Regions from separate parts of the Homo sapiens genome. Here region 1 is linked to region 2. Evidence: promoter capture Hi-C in human tissues and cell types (Jung and others, 2019). All regions are on one chromosome and are shown on one strand. Each heading gives the region's core, a stretch centred on a gene start or on the middle of the fragment in contact. The rest is flanking DNA. Distances are from core to core; before and after follow the strand shown.

Evidence for each region. Contacts are between HindIII fragments. The study calls those that stand out against the background at their distance.
Region 1: a contact is called between a fragment that was not itself captured here and the fragment with the promoter of FGF4 in region 2, in 5 of the 25 tissues and cell types used here (heart left ventricle, mesenchymal stem cells, mesendoderm cells and 2 more).

Annotation. Positions count from the first base shown.
Region 1 is chr11:69,856,475-69,863,317 of GRCh38, reverse strand. No RefSeq gene overlaps it. Among named protein-coding and RNA genes, the nearest start is that of FGF3, 40 kb to the right of the region's middle. The HindIII fragment of the contact is 5,190 bases long and covers 1-4,492 here.
Region 2 is chr11:69,773,879-69,780,946 of GRCh38, reverse strand. It overlaps FGF4 (fibroblast growth factor 4), which reads left to right and starts at 5,606. Exons shown (of 3, transcript NM_002007.4): 1 at 5,606-6,202; 2 at 6,820-6,923. The coding sequence starts at 5,863. RefSeq lists enhancers at 3,934-4,857, 6,707-7,068 and promoters at 5,322-5,717, 4,605-5,717. The HindIII fragment of the contact is 23,973 bases long and covers 1-7,068 here.

The DNA of each region.
Region 1 (6,843 bases), core at 648-3,147, 86 kb before region 2:
TGGGGGCACAGGTCTACATCCCTCCTGGGTGGTCATGAGGGCTAATAGAGTGTGGAAGCCTCAGTTATGAGTGAAGGAAGCTGCTGCCCACCCTGTAGCCACCACCACCACCACCATCATCATCATCATCATAGATGTCTTCAGGTCAAAGGCCAGGGAAGGCGCTGCTGCTGCTCTCCTTGGCTGTCCCTGAGGCCTGGAACTTGGGGGAGGAGGAAGAGGAGGTCTTCTCAGCTGACTCTGAAGCCAACAAGGATTCAGGGTTATGGGGATCCCAGGGGTGGGGACAGATGTCAGCCTCTGGCTGCAATGGGCAGTAAGTGGGGCCAGGGCAGCCTGACCCCCAGGGGACCAGGGAGTTGCTGGTGGGTGCTGCAACTTCTTTAGTGATCAGTAAAACTCCCACCTCTGCCCCCATAGAAGGCCTCCTGGAGGGAGCTATCTCCTGGGGCCCGGCCGTTGACACCTCCATGGACAGGCTGAAGTAGTTGGCTTTTGAGTGTCTCTCCAAGACAGCAATTTGCCACCTCATTATGAGCTTGATGGATGAGCACTGACCGGGACAGCCGTCCCCTTGGGTGGGGGAGTGGCCCTGGGCCACCCAAGGCCCAGAGAAAGGCAGCTGATGTGCATGACAAAATGTTTTCTTACCGCCCGGTGCCAGTGACAGCCCCTCAAAGGAAATGCAGTCTCTGCAGAAGTGATTCATGCGCCCGTCTTTGTGGGGCCGAGATTGGCTGTTGTTTGGCGGTTGAAGAAAGGGCCACCGGCTCCTTGTAGTCTCTGGGAATGCCGTCTCCGTGGGCCACCAGCCCCCCGGTCAGCACGCACGAGGCCACTCTTCATTTTGATGAGGTTTCCAAAGGCCCTGGCTGCAGCCGGGGCCACTGCTTGGTCGGGGCCACTGCAGGCCGGCTCAGTAGCAACCTTTGCGGGCCGTGCTTGATTCCATAAGAGAGAAAGGGCCCCTGCCAGCCCATCTGTAATCTTCGATAGCACCAGGTCCCCAGCAACCTGCACCCACCAAGGGGTCATCAAATATGCACTATGTCATCAGCTGATTGACACCTTGCTCCCCTCCACGAGGGCCATTCTTACAACCCCAATATTCCCCGACCATTCCCTCCACGGGTCTCTGTTTGCCTGTTGCCATGCTCCAGGCCTTGGATACAGCTGTGAGCGGGACAGACTGGGCTCATGTGGCTGTGTGTCCCACAAGGGAAAGCCGGACAGTAAACCAATGCGTGGGTGAGATGTCCAATGTGACCAGTGCTCAGGGGCAGGCAGTGGTGGGGCTTGTGTCCTTGCTAGGGTGGTCAGGGAAGCTTCTCCAAGGGGGTGATCCAGTGTGATGATGGACAATTTCTGCATTTCTCTGAGTTTCTTCCCCGTAAAACAGGGATAATAGTAGTTGTATCATACAGTTGTTGCATGCATGAAATGACACACAGCATGAGACACACTCAGCTCCATCGGGGATGCAGTAAGACCTCAATAAACCACACAGCTATTACATTGCGGCTGCCATTGTCATTAATTTTTAGTTTCAGATCATTCCAGTTAGAAGCCTTTCCAGATCCTATGAACCTCTGTTCATTAATCTTTCACTTAGCCAATGCTTCTGGGGCAATGAGTCCTCAGAAACTAGGTTTGCCCAGAGTGTCGGAGGCCCCTCCAAAAGCGGGGGCTGGCAGGACCACGGCCGTTTCCTGCAGGAGAAAGATGAGAGAGAGGTAGAGGTGGCCACTATCCAGGTGAAGCAAGAGGAGCCCTCGTTTTTGACACCTGTCCCAGATGGGCAGGAGTTCTGGATTGCCAAGGTCAGCCTTGGGTCTGTGCAGGTGAGCCCAAGGATTTGGAGCTACTTGGTCTGAGGAGTGAGAGCTGAGCTCTGGGGAAGAAGTTGTCAAAGTAAAAGCAGAAAGGGTCCTGGAAAAAGCACTCGACTAGGAAGCTGGAGTCCAGGGTTCTAGCCCCACAATATGCCTGTACCTTGCTGCCTCCCTTTGGGCAGGTCACCTGATCCCTCTTGGTGTCATCCCTCCTATAATGGGCTGGACCAAGCGAATGCTCCGTGCACTGCATCCCAAGAGTCCTGGGGATCTGCTGGAGGTGTTGCGGGATCTGGGTTTAGAGTGAGAGTGGCTCAGGAAGGACAGTACCAAGTAGTTATCACTGCACAGCAAACCACTCCAAACTCGGTGACTTCACATGAGGAGTGCTTCTTCTATTCACAAGCCCAGGGGTCAGCCGGGCAGTCCTGCTTATCTGGATGAAGCTCGGGGGATCTTGGCTGGACTCATCGTATGTCTGCAGACAGCAGGTGGGCTGGCTGGTTTAGGATGCCCTCACTTCCATGCCTGAAGATTGGGCAGCTCTCAGCTGGAGTCACGGTGGACCACTGGGCCACTGTCTCTCTTCCTCCAGCAGGCCAGCCCCTGGTAAGAGTCCTGGGTCCTCTTAGGGCCTAGGCTCAGAATTGGTGGCTGGTCTCTGCTGCCACAATTCTATTTTTTTTTTCTTTTTTGAGACAGAGTCTCTCTCTGTTGCTCAGGCTGGAGTGCAGTGGTGTAATCATGGCTCACTGCAACCTTCGCCTTCCCAGCTCAAGCAATCCTCTCACCTTAGCCTTCTGAGTAGGTGGGACTGCAGGTGCATGCTACCATGGCAACACAAACTAATTTTTTGTGTTTTTTTGTAGAGACAGGGTTTCACTGTGTTGTCCAGGCTGGTCTCGAACTCTTGGACTCAAGCAATCTTCCCTCCTCCGCCTCTCAAAGTGCTGTGATTACAGGCATGAGCCACTGCACCCAGCCACTGCAGTCACATTTTTTTGGCCAAAGCAAGTTACAAAACCAACCCTGATTCAAGGGACAGGGAAATAGACTTTGCCTCTTGCTAGGAATTGCTGCAACCAGGAGTGTTGAGTTGGGGAGGAAAATAATTAGGGGCATTTCTGCAGTCATTTAACCACGAGGACCAACAAACAAGACTTGAAGCGGGGTGGGGCCAGAAGCAGGAGAGACGCACTGTAAACAGGATCCTCTCCAGAGGGCAACATGGAGTCCAGCTCAGAGGTAGAGCTCACATTTTCCTCCAAAACTACACGTGGCTATTTTTTCTTCCTGGTATTACCCCATCCCCTTGTGTGTATATTTTTTAAAGAAGAAAACATTCTCTCAGATTAAACAAAATTGTACTTGTGATCACAGTCTCAGCTTTTACACCGTGAGAACATCGGAGGATTTGTGTAGGAAGCCTGAAGGTGTGTCGCTGTGGGTGACCCGTGGGCCAGTCTGTAGAAAAGACAAGAACTGCAAGTTCGTATAATACAAAAGCCTCCCCTGCTGCATGGGAAGAAATGGATCTGGTACCTTAGAACTGGGGAGTAAAGGGATAAATGAGAAGAAGCGACAGCTCTTCCTTACCAAAGAATCCAATTAATAAATGTAGAAAGAATTTGGAAAATAGAAAATCACCATTAGAACAACAAAGTCATCACAGTCATAATGTGTCCAGAGTTGGTTCCCGCTGGTGGGTTCGTGGTCTCGCTGACTTCAAGAATGAAGCAGCAGACCTTCGTGGTGGGTGCTACAGCTCTTAAAGATGTCCCGGACCCAAAGAGTAAGTAGCAGCAAGGTTTATTGTGAAGAGCAAAAGGACAAAGCTTCCACCACATCCAAGGGGACCCGAGTGAGTTGCCCCTGCTGGCTGAGGTGGCCAGCTTTTATTTCCCTATTGGCCCCGCCCATGTTCTGTTTCTGTCCTATCAGAATGCCCTTTTTTCAGTCCTCCCAGTGATTGGCTACTTTTAGAATCCTGCTGATTGGTGCATTTTGCAGAGCACTGATTGGTGTGTTTTACAGAGCGCTGACTGGTGAGTTTTACAGAGCGCTGACTGGTGCGTTTTACAGAGGGCTAATTGGTGCATTTTACAATCCTCTTTTAAGACAGGAAAGTTCCCTAAGTCCCCACTCGACCCAGAAAGTCCAGCTGGCCTCACTTCTCAATAATTGTTACAGGTAATATCTGCTGGTTGAGGCTAAAATTAGTGGGTACAAGTTTGAGGAGAAAGAGGATATTTGCATAGTCTGAAAGTATTGCTCCTAAAGTTATTAATTACAACAGGAAAAGTAGTAAGGAAGACACCACCTTAACCAAGTGATCTAGGTTAACTTTGCCACTAATGAGATACAGTGACATGGGCATTGCTTCTAGGGTATTCTTGCAAAAATGCATAACCTCCACCTTATCATGAGATAACATCAGATAAACCCAAATTGAGGAAAATTCTGCTAAATAACTTACCATCACTCTTCAAAAGCGTCAAAGTCACGAAAGATAAGACAAGGCTGAGGAAGTGTCTCAGACTGAGGAGGCTAGGAGGATATGACAAGTAAATACAATATGATGTCCTGGACTGGATCCTGGAACGGGAAAAGGACATAGCGATGAAATTTATGAAACCTGAATCAGGTCTGTAGTTTAGTTGATAGTGTTGAACCCATGTTAATTTCTTAGTTTCGACAATTATATTTGGCTGCTTGAGATACTAACATTAAAGGAAGCTGGGTAAGGAAGTCTTGGGACTATTTACTGCCACTTTTCTTTCAGTTGAAAATTATTTCAAAATAAAAAGCTAAAAAAAAAACTATGTGAAGCAAAGTAATTTTGGTTCCAACCATATTGTACTGAGTATTAAGATCACCCTTTCATCATAAACAACTATTCAACTGGGTGCAATATTTAAAATAACTTTTGAAGGCATCAGACAACAGAAAATACAGGGCTGTTTTCCTTCATGGGGAAAGACATATGGGAATAAGCCCCGCCTTCATTCTGGCTTTATACTTGAGGGAAATTTCTAAACTGAGGCACAAGGCAGCCAAACCCAACCTAAAGCAGCATTCTTGCCATTGCAGCTCTAGAACAAGGGCTCTTCTAGGCCCACAATAACAAGGAATGAAAATAATCTTCAATCAAACTGTTTCACCAATAAATTAACAGCCTGTTAAGGGGAGAAAAATTCTCAAGATTCTTTAAAGGAAGACAATAAAATCCAGACTAAAACAACATAGCATTTGCAATGTCTAACGTACAGTAGAAAAATTACTAGACATTCAAAGAGGCAGAAAAAATGTGACCCATACTCAGAAGAGAAAAAGTAATTAATAGAAACAAACGCAGAGATGACACAGATGATTTAGCAGACTTTAAAACAACGTGAGCGTTAGAGGTGCCAACACCCCATACAGTCAAAAATCCATGTTTAACTTTTGAATCCCTCAAAACTTAACTGCCTGTTGTTGACCAGAAGCTTACCAATAACAAATAGTTGATTAACACATATTTTGTAAGTTTTACGTGTTATACACTGTATTCTTACAATAAAGTAAGCTAGAGAAAAGAAAATGTTATTAAGAAAACCATAAGGCAGCCTGGTCAACATAACAAGACCCTATCTCTATAAAAAATTTAGAAATTAGTCGGGTGTGGTGGCACACACCTGTAGTCAGGAGGCTGAGATGGGAGGATAGCTTGAGTGCAGGAGTTTGAGGCTGCAGTGAACTATGATAGGGCCACTGCACTCCAGCCTGGGGGACAGAGTGAGACTCCATCTCAAAAGAAAGAAAGAGAGAGAAAGAGAAAGAGAGAAGGAGGGAGGGAGGGAGAGAGGTAAGCAGGCAGGCAAGCATGAGGAAGAAAAAATATGTTGATTATTCATTAAGTGGAAGTGGATCATCATAGAGGTCTTCATCGTCATTGTCTTCATGTTGAGTAAGCTGAGGAGAAGGAGGAAGAGGAAGAGGAAGAGTTGGTCTTGCTCTCTCAAGGGTGACAGAAGTAGAAGTAGTGGACGAGGTAGAAGGGGGAGCAGGAGAGGCAGGTGCACTTGCTGTAACTTTTATTTTTAAAAATCCACTTATAAATGGACCTGCACAGGTAAAACCTGAGTTGTTCAAGGGTCAACTGTATTATAAATATGCTCCAGGCCTTAAAGAAGAAAATGCACATAATGAATACAGAGATGAAGAATCACAGCAGATATATGAAAACTAAAAAAGAAGTAAATGGAAATTCCCAGATCTGAAAAGTACAATGTCTGAAATGACAAGATCAAAAATTCACTGGATGGTCCTAAAAACAGATTTAACAGTGTAGAAGAAAATGTCATGAACTTGAAATCAGCTCAACGGAAATTACCCAAACAAGAACAAGATAATTGATGGTATCTCTGATATGAAGCAAAAATAATCACAGTATATTATGGGTTTATAACATACACAGAAATAAAATGTATTATATAATGGCACAAAGGGCAAGGTGAATGAATAAATAGAAGTATATTGTTAATAGCCAGGCGTGGTGGCACACTCCTGTAATCCCAACCACTTGGGAGGCTGAGGCACCAGAATTGCTTGAACCTGGGAAGCAGAGGTTGCAAGTGAGCTGAGATCGTGCCACTGCACTCCAGCCTGGGTGACAGAGTGAGACTCTGTCAAAAAAAAAAAAAAAGCATAATTGTTGTAAAGGTCTTACAATACATGTGAAGTGGTATAATATTAATTCAAGGTGTATCGTGAAAAGTTAACAATACACACTATAATACCTACAGCAACCAGAGAAACTAAAACAAAGTTTTATAGCTAAAAAAAATGCACAAAGACAAAATAGAATACTAATAAAATTCAATTAATTTAAAATAAAGGAAAGGAGAAAAAAGTAAAAAGAACAGATAGGGTAAATGGAAACAACTAGAAAGATGGTAGATTTAAAATCAACCATATTAATAACTACATTAAATTCAGTTGGTCTAACTACTCATATTAATGGGGAAAGGTT
Region 2 (7,068 bases), core at 4,357-6,856:
TATGTGCAAAAGATCTGCACGCGTGTGCACAGGGAGGCAGGTGGTTTTATTGATTCGCAGTCATTGAAACCGCCCCCAAAGCCTGTCGCCCAGACCTGGCTGGGCCACCTTCAGAGTAGAAGAGAAACAGGGCAGAATAACGGGAGAGGGGAAACTCTCCTGGACGCAGAACTGGGTAAGACATCGCTATAAGCCAAGGAGTGACCTGCTGTCTCTTTAATGCCCCAGGATCAAGGTAACTTGAAAACAACAACAACAACAACAAAAAACAAACAAACAAACAACAACAAAAAAAAAAACATGGAAAACAGTATGGCAGTTTCTCAAAAACTTAAACATAGAATTATCACCTCATCCAGCAATTCCATTTCTGGGCATATTCCCACAAGAAATGAAAGCAGGAACTCAAACAGATATTTGCACACCGAGGTTCACAGCAGCATCGTCCACAGTAGCCAAAAGGTGGGAGCAGCTCAGGGACCGCTGACAGATAAGTAAATAAATAAAACGTGGCCCATCCATACCTGGAATATTATTCAGCCTCTAAAAAAGAAAAAAAGAAAGCAAACTCCCACACATGCTACATCGTGGATGAATCTTGATGATGTTATGCTAAGTGAAATCAGCCAGATACAAAAAGGACAAACATTGTGTGATTCCACTCATGAGGTCCCTAAGTAGTCAAATTCGTAGACACAGAAAGCGAAGATGGTGGGTGCCGGGGCTGGGGGAGCCGAATGGGGAGCAAGTGTTTAATGGGCAGGGAGTTTCAGTTTGGGAAGATGAAAACCATCTGGAGATGGATGGTGGTGATGGTTGCACTAGAATGTGAGTGTCCTTAATGCCACTTACCCGTGCACTTAACAATGGCTAAAATGAGAGAGGCTGTGAGTGTGTGGGGACAGAGGGTGTAAGGGAACTCTCTGTACCTTCCTCTCCATTTTGCTGTGAACTTAAAACTGCTCTGAAAAAAGTCTTTTAAAAAATAGTTAACATCAGGCCAGACACGGTGGCTCATGCCTGTAATCCTAGCACTTTGGGAGGCCGAGGTGGGTGGATCACGAGGTCAGGAGACCGAGACCATCCTGGCTAACACGGTAAAACCCCATCTCTACTAAAAATACAAAAAAAAAAAAAAAATTAGCCGGGCGTGGTGGCGGGCGCTTGTAGTCCCAGCTACTCAGGAGGCTGAGGCAGGAGAATGGCGTGAACCTGGGAGGCGGAGCTTGCAGTGAGCCACGATCGCGCCACTGCACTCCAGCCTGGGTGACAGAGCAAGACTCCACCTCAAAAAAAAAATAGGTTAACATCAATTTTATGTTATGTATCATGTATATTTTACCACCTTTTTTTTTCTTTTTTGAGACGGAGACTCGCTCTGTAGCGCCCAGGCTGGAGTGCACTGGCGCGATCTCAGCTCACTGCAACCTCCACCTCCCAGGTTCAAGCGATTCTCCTGCCTCAGCCTCCTGAGTAGCTGGGATTACAGGCATGCACCACTACGCCCAGCTAATTTTGTATTTTTAGTAGAAATGGGGTTTCACAATGTTGGCCAGGCTGGTCTCGAACTCCTGACCTCAAGTGATCTGCCTGCCTCGGCCTCCCAAAGTGCTGGGATTACAGGGGTGAGCCACCGCACCCAATTAACACCATTTTTTAAAAAGCTAAAAAAAAAAATTGGCTCAATCTCCCCTTATTCTGAAGGTCCTAAAGAAAAACATGCCACTTGCTTTGGGGTGCTTCGGCTCAGTGTAGACCAGTCTATCCCACCGGCCTTATCATCCTCCTGGACTTTTGCAGAAAGACATCATTGTGAGGGTGTCTTGCTGAAGCCAAGAAAGGGAAGTTGAATTGAGAAAGCAGTTGAGCTATTTACAAAGTTTACACAGCCTGGGCCCTTGCCCCGGGCTGAGCTCAGTCATTTTGCCCTGAGGACTATAAGTGGACTATTATGCAGCACTTTCTTTTTTATTATTATTACTATTAAGCCAAGTAAGTTCTTAACAGCTAACACCTGAGCTGGTGGCTCTGAGAAGCCTCTTCACTCCTTCACGGGAGACGGGACCATTCACATGAAGATCCTACATTGTTGTTTTTTTTTTTTTGGAGGTCGAAAAAGGTCACTGTTAGGAGGCTTTCTGGGCCTTTGCTCCTCTCCCTCAATTTATTACCCCTCCAGTGGCTGATGACGTACAGGGAGACTTCCACCCGATAATGACATGGCTTTGTTTATTTCACAAATTCCCAGCATTTACTGTTAATCAGACCCAGTTTGAACCACCCCCAAGGGGCTTGCAGTCTAAACAGCTCACTTTGCTCAGCCTCTTCCTGAGGTCAGGCACTGTCTTGCTAAGGCCGACATCAGCTCATGCCCATTTTACAGATGGGGAAACTGAGAATGCTAAGAAGTGAAATAGCGTAAGGTTATACAACTAACAGGGAGACAGCCTAAACTTGAACCCAACCGGAAGCCCAACATGGCCCCAAGCCTTCCTCGAACCCCAGGACTTGGCAAAGCGGGCGTCCTGGGGTAAAGCATGGCAGAAGGGCTTTGGGTCCAAGCTAAGTGAGGGTCCTGTTTCTAGATCACCTGGCCAGGTGCAGTGGCTCATGCCTGTAATCCCAGCACTTTGGGAGGCTGAGGCGGGAGGATTGCTTGAGGTCAAAAGTTTGAGTCCAGCCCGGGCAATACAGCGAGACCTCGTCTCTACTAAAAAAGAAAACAAAAAATTAGCTGAGTGTGTAGTCCCAGCTACTCAGGAGACTGAGGCTGGAGGATTGCTTAAGCCTGGAAGTTTGAGGCTGTAGAGCTATGATAGAGCCACTGCACTTTAGCCTGGGCAATGGAGCAAGATACTATCTCAAAAAAAAAAAAAAAATTATATATAGGTCCCCTTGTCTCTCTGCTGAGAAGTAACCAGATCTGGAAAAGATTTAGTCACCTTGGTCCAACTATTTCTTTCACATAAAGAAAAAAAAAGGCAATGCAGACCTTCCCATAGGGGCAGCTCTGCCTGAGGCCTTTGCAGGTACCTCTGTTTGTCTGCCCCGGGGCACAGTGGCAGATTGGGCAGGGCAGCTTGCAGTGAGGATTGCTGATGGATGAGCTCCTAGTGTACCTAGCCAGCCATTTACTCACAAACAGCTATTGAGCACCTACTATGTGCCCAGCACTGGAGGTACAACTGGCAACAACACAAATCCGGGCTTGCTCCATGGAGATGACAATCTAAATGCGGTGGAGGGTCAGCTAACAAGTGCAGAAGGTTCTCTTAAGAGCTCAAAGAAGCTCCAACCAGAAGGACTGGGCAGGGGATCCAGAAGGCATCCCCGAGTGGCTACTCCAATGGAGTGGCTTCTCCATTCAGGCAAACCTGAATGGGATAAGTCATTGGCAGGAAGATCTGGGGCCGGGGGTCATCCAGTGGGAAGGGGAGAGATGACGCGGTCAGCATGGCGGGAACACAGGAGCAGAAAGGAAGCAGGTGGGAAGCCAGGTCAAGGGCCAGGGGCACGGAAAGGGGTCAGATGCAGATAAGTGAGTGCTTCCTGGTGCATCCTTCATCCGCAATTCTTCCTTACCTGTGCTTTTGTTGCCTCCATTGCACAGCTGAGGAGGCCAGGGCCTGCGGAGGTTGAGAGTGTGCTCAGGGAGCACCCGGAGCAAAGTGGAAGCCAGATTCCAGATCAGTTCTGCTGGGAATTCCCAGCTCCCAAAAGCCCTGCTGGCTGTCAGTCCCCAGTCACCACAAGCACCTATCCTGTGTGGGTGGGCCTGCAGTTCTGGGAGATATATCAGCTGCCTGCAGCGTCCTTTGCTGAACTCACAGCAAATAGGAGAGACAGGGAGGGGTCCTTGGGAAGCCCTAAATTGAGCTTGCTGTGGGAGTCCTGGGAAGAAAGGAGCCTCATCCTATCAAAAGCCGGGGGAAGACATCAGAGTCCCTCTGCTCAGGTCAGCTGGCACAGGTGGGTCTCCAGGCCTGGGTCTCACTTCCCCAGAGGGTGTGTTCGGTTGGCCCCAGGCTGAGGGAGGAAAGCCCACCTCCCATGTCATTTTGCAAATGGGGAGTCAGGGACCTAGAGATGGAAAGACAACACAGCAAGTGAGGGATGGGTTCTAGGTCCCCTGCACCCTGCACCCTGCACCCTGGCCAACGATGTCTATTTGGCACCAGATCTGCAGGCTCATCTGGGGGACCCCAGGACCCAGAGGCAGCCGGGTTGCATCTCGAAGCTGTGAGCTGCAGCCCAGGAAGGTCCAGGTCTGGGTGGCGCTGCCCAAGCAGGCTGCAGGCCCAAGGAGGAACAAAGATCCTCTCAAGGGGTGCGGAGCTGAGGTTCCGGTCCTGCCAAAGCCACTTGATGACCCCCAAGTGCCCCCCTTTCTGCACCTCAGAGAAGAGCCCTCAAGCCTCCCAGGTCCCCTCCAGGGGCACGAATAAGCCCCAGCAGGGTTCTGAAGGGGTCCCAGGAATCTCCCTGTGGGGATGCGGTGGAGGTGGAGGAGGCTGCGGTGGCCTGGGGACATCTCTGGTCACAGGTGCTGGTGGTATGAGAGATGGGGTAGGCACCAAGCCCCCTGCAGCTGTGGCTAGGCGGGCCTGCAGGAAGGGCCAGGCAGGCTCCTCAGGGACCACAAAGAACAGGGGTTTTCACACCTAGGTGGGCCTGCATCTAGCTAGGACAGTCCCCATCAGGCCATAATGGGCACAGTGGGAGGTAGAACCATGAGTGAGAGAGGGGAGGCTTCCAGAGGCCTGGCCTGGGTCCCTGCTAGATTGAGGGCTCTGGCTATGGTACATGGATATTTCTGCTGTGGAATCAAAGGAGCAGGGGATGCTGAATATCCCCTCTGGCCCTATGCCCTGCTACCTGTCCTTTCACGGAAGGGTGTGTGTGTAGGGGGTGCAGGACCAGGCCTCCCTGGGTGCATCTCTGCCACCTTGCCCTTTGGCTCAGGTGGACCTCCACCAGGTATTCAGAACTCCAGCCCAGAAACGCGCCAAGCCTGTGGGGCCAAGACCTAGGGGGTGGGGGTGGCCTCCCTCCCGCCTGTAGCCAAAGGGTCCTCCCTTGCCCAGCCAGGCCCCGGTGTCGCTTACTGCTCTTATCCACCCCTCCTTCCCAGGCCGGTCCTCAAGGCCCCAGCAAAGGAACCAAGTTCCCGTGAGCCTCCGAAAGGCGAAGGGCAGGCAGCAGCCGCTGGCTTCTGCGCCCACTAGGAGCTTCGGATGCCCGAGTTAGGGCTGCGCCAAGGCGGCCGGAGCAGAGAGGGAGACGGGGACGGGGACAGGCAGGGACAAAGTGCAAGAGGCAAAACTGGCTGAAAAGCAGAAGTGTAGGAGCCGCCAAGGGGCGGGACGAACAGGTCCGTGGGCCGGGCGGAGCCAAGGGTGGGGGCCGGGGTCCCTCCAGGTGGCACTCGCGGCGCTAGTCCCCAGCCTCCTCCCTTCCCCCGGCCCTGATTGGCAGGCGGCCTGCGACCAGCCGCGAACGCCACAGCGCCCCGGGCGCCCAGGAGAACGCGAACGGCCCCCCGCGGGAGCGGGCGAGTAGGAGGGGGCGCCGGGCTATATATATAGCGGCTCGGCCTCGGGCGGGCCTGGCGCTCAGGGAGGCGCGCACTGCTCCTCAGAGTCCCAGCTCCAGCCGCGCGCTTTCCGCCCGGCTCGCCGCTCCATGCAGCCGGGGTAGAGCCCGGCGCCCGGGGGCCCCGTCGCTTGCCTCCCGCACCTCCTCGGTTGCGCACTCCTGCCCGAGGTCGGCCGTGCGCTCCCGCGGGACGCCACAGGCGCAGCTCTGCCCCCCAGCTTCCCGGGCGCACTGACCGCCTGACCGACGCACGGCCCTCGGGCCGGGATGTCGGGGCCCGGGACGGCCGCGGTAGCGCTGCTCCCGGCGGTCCTGCTGGCCTTGCTGGCGCCCTGGGCGGGCCGAGGGGGCGCCGCCGCACCCACTGCACCCAACGGCACGCTGGAGGCCGAGCTGGAGCGCCGCTGGGAGAGCCTGGTGGCGCTCTCGTTGGCGCGCCTGCCGGTGGCAGCGCAGCCCAAGGAGGCGGCCGTCCAGAGCGGCGCCGGCGACTACCTGCTGGGCATCAAGCGGCTGCGGCGGCTCTACTGCAACGTGGGCATCGGCTTCCACCTCCAGGCGCTCCCCGACGGCCGCATCGGCGGCGCGCACGCGGACACCCGCGACAGTGAGTGGCGCGGCCAGGCGCGAAGGGGCGGGGGCGGGGGGCAACGGCCGCCGGGCCAACCCGCTCAGTCACACTCTGAGACCCTCGGCGGGCACCTGCTCGGGGGCCCCGGGAACCGGGGCGGACTCGGGCTCCGGTCCCTTCTGACGCGGGGCTGGGGACGCAGACACTCTTGGCTCCGGCAGCCCAGCGCAACCCCTGAGGTCGGGCGCCGCCTCCCGCCTTCAGAAACTCGGGCTCCGAGCGCCGAATTCCAGCGCCTTCGCCCGTGGGCACAGGGCGCGCGGTGCAGCCACAGGGGGCCCGAGACACGCGCCCCGGCCTGGCCCAGGCTGGGGAACCGCTGGGGTCGGGCTCGCGTCTGAAGGTCCGGGACTGGGTGCGGCCGCCGGGGGTCCCCTACACAGGCAAGCTAATCTGAGCTAGCGCAGGCTTGGGCTCCGGAGGCCCTAGAGGGCAGCTTGGGCTCTGGAGGCCCTTGGGGGCGGCTGCGCCGGGAACCCTGGCCCTTTATCCCCAACCCCACCCCAGAAATAGGGTCCCCGGAGGCGAACAAGCCGAGGGGCGGAGTGGGCCAGGGATCACCTGCCCCGCAATGACCTGCGCCCCGCCCCCAGGCCTGCTGGAGCTCTCGCCCGTGGAGCGGGGCGTGGTGAGCATCTTCGGCGTGGCCAGCCGGTTCTTCGTGGCCATGAGCAGCAAGGGCAAGCTCTATGGCTCGGTGAGTACCGCAGGGGTCTGGCTAGGCACCTAGTTGGGAACAGCGGACATGGCTAGCAGGCTCGTGGCTTCTCCAGCCCCACCTGTGCCTGGGTCTTGGAGGGGTGGCAGGGTCACCAGGTCACGGGACCGGCAGGCCTCCCCAG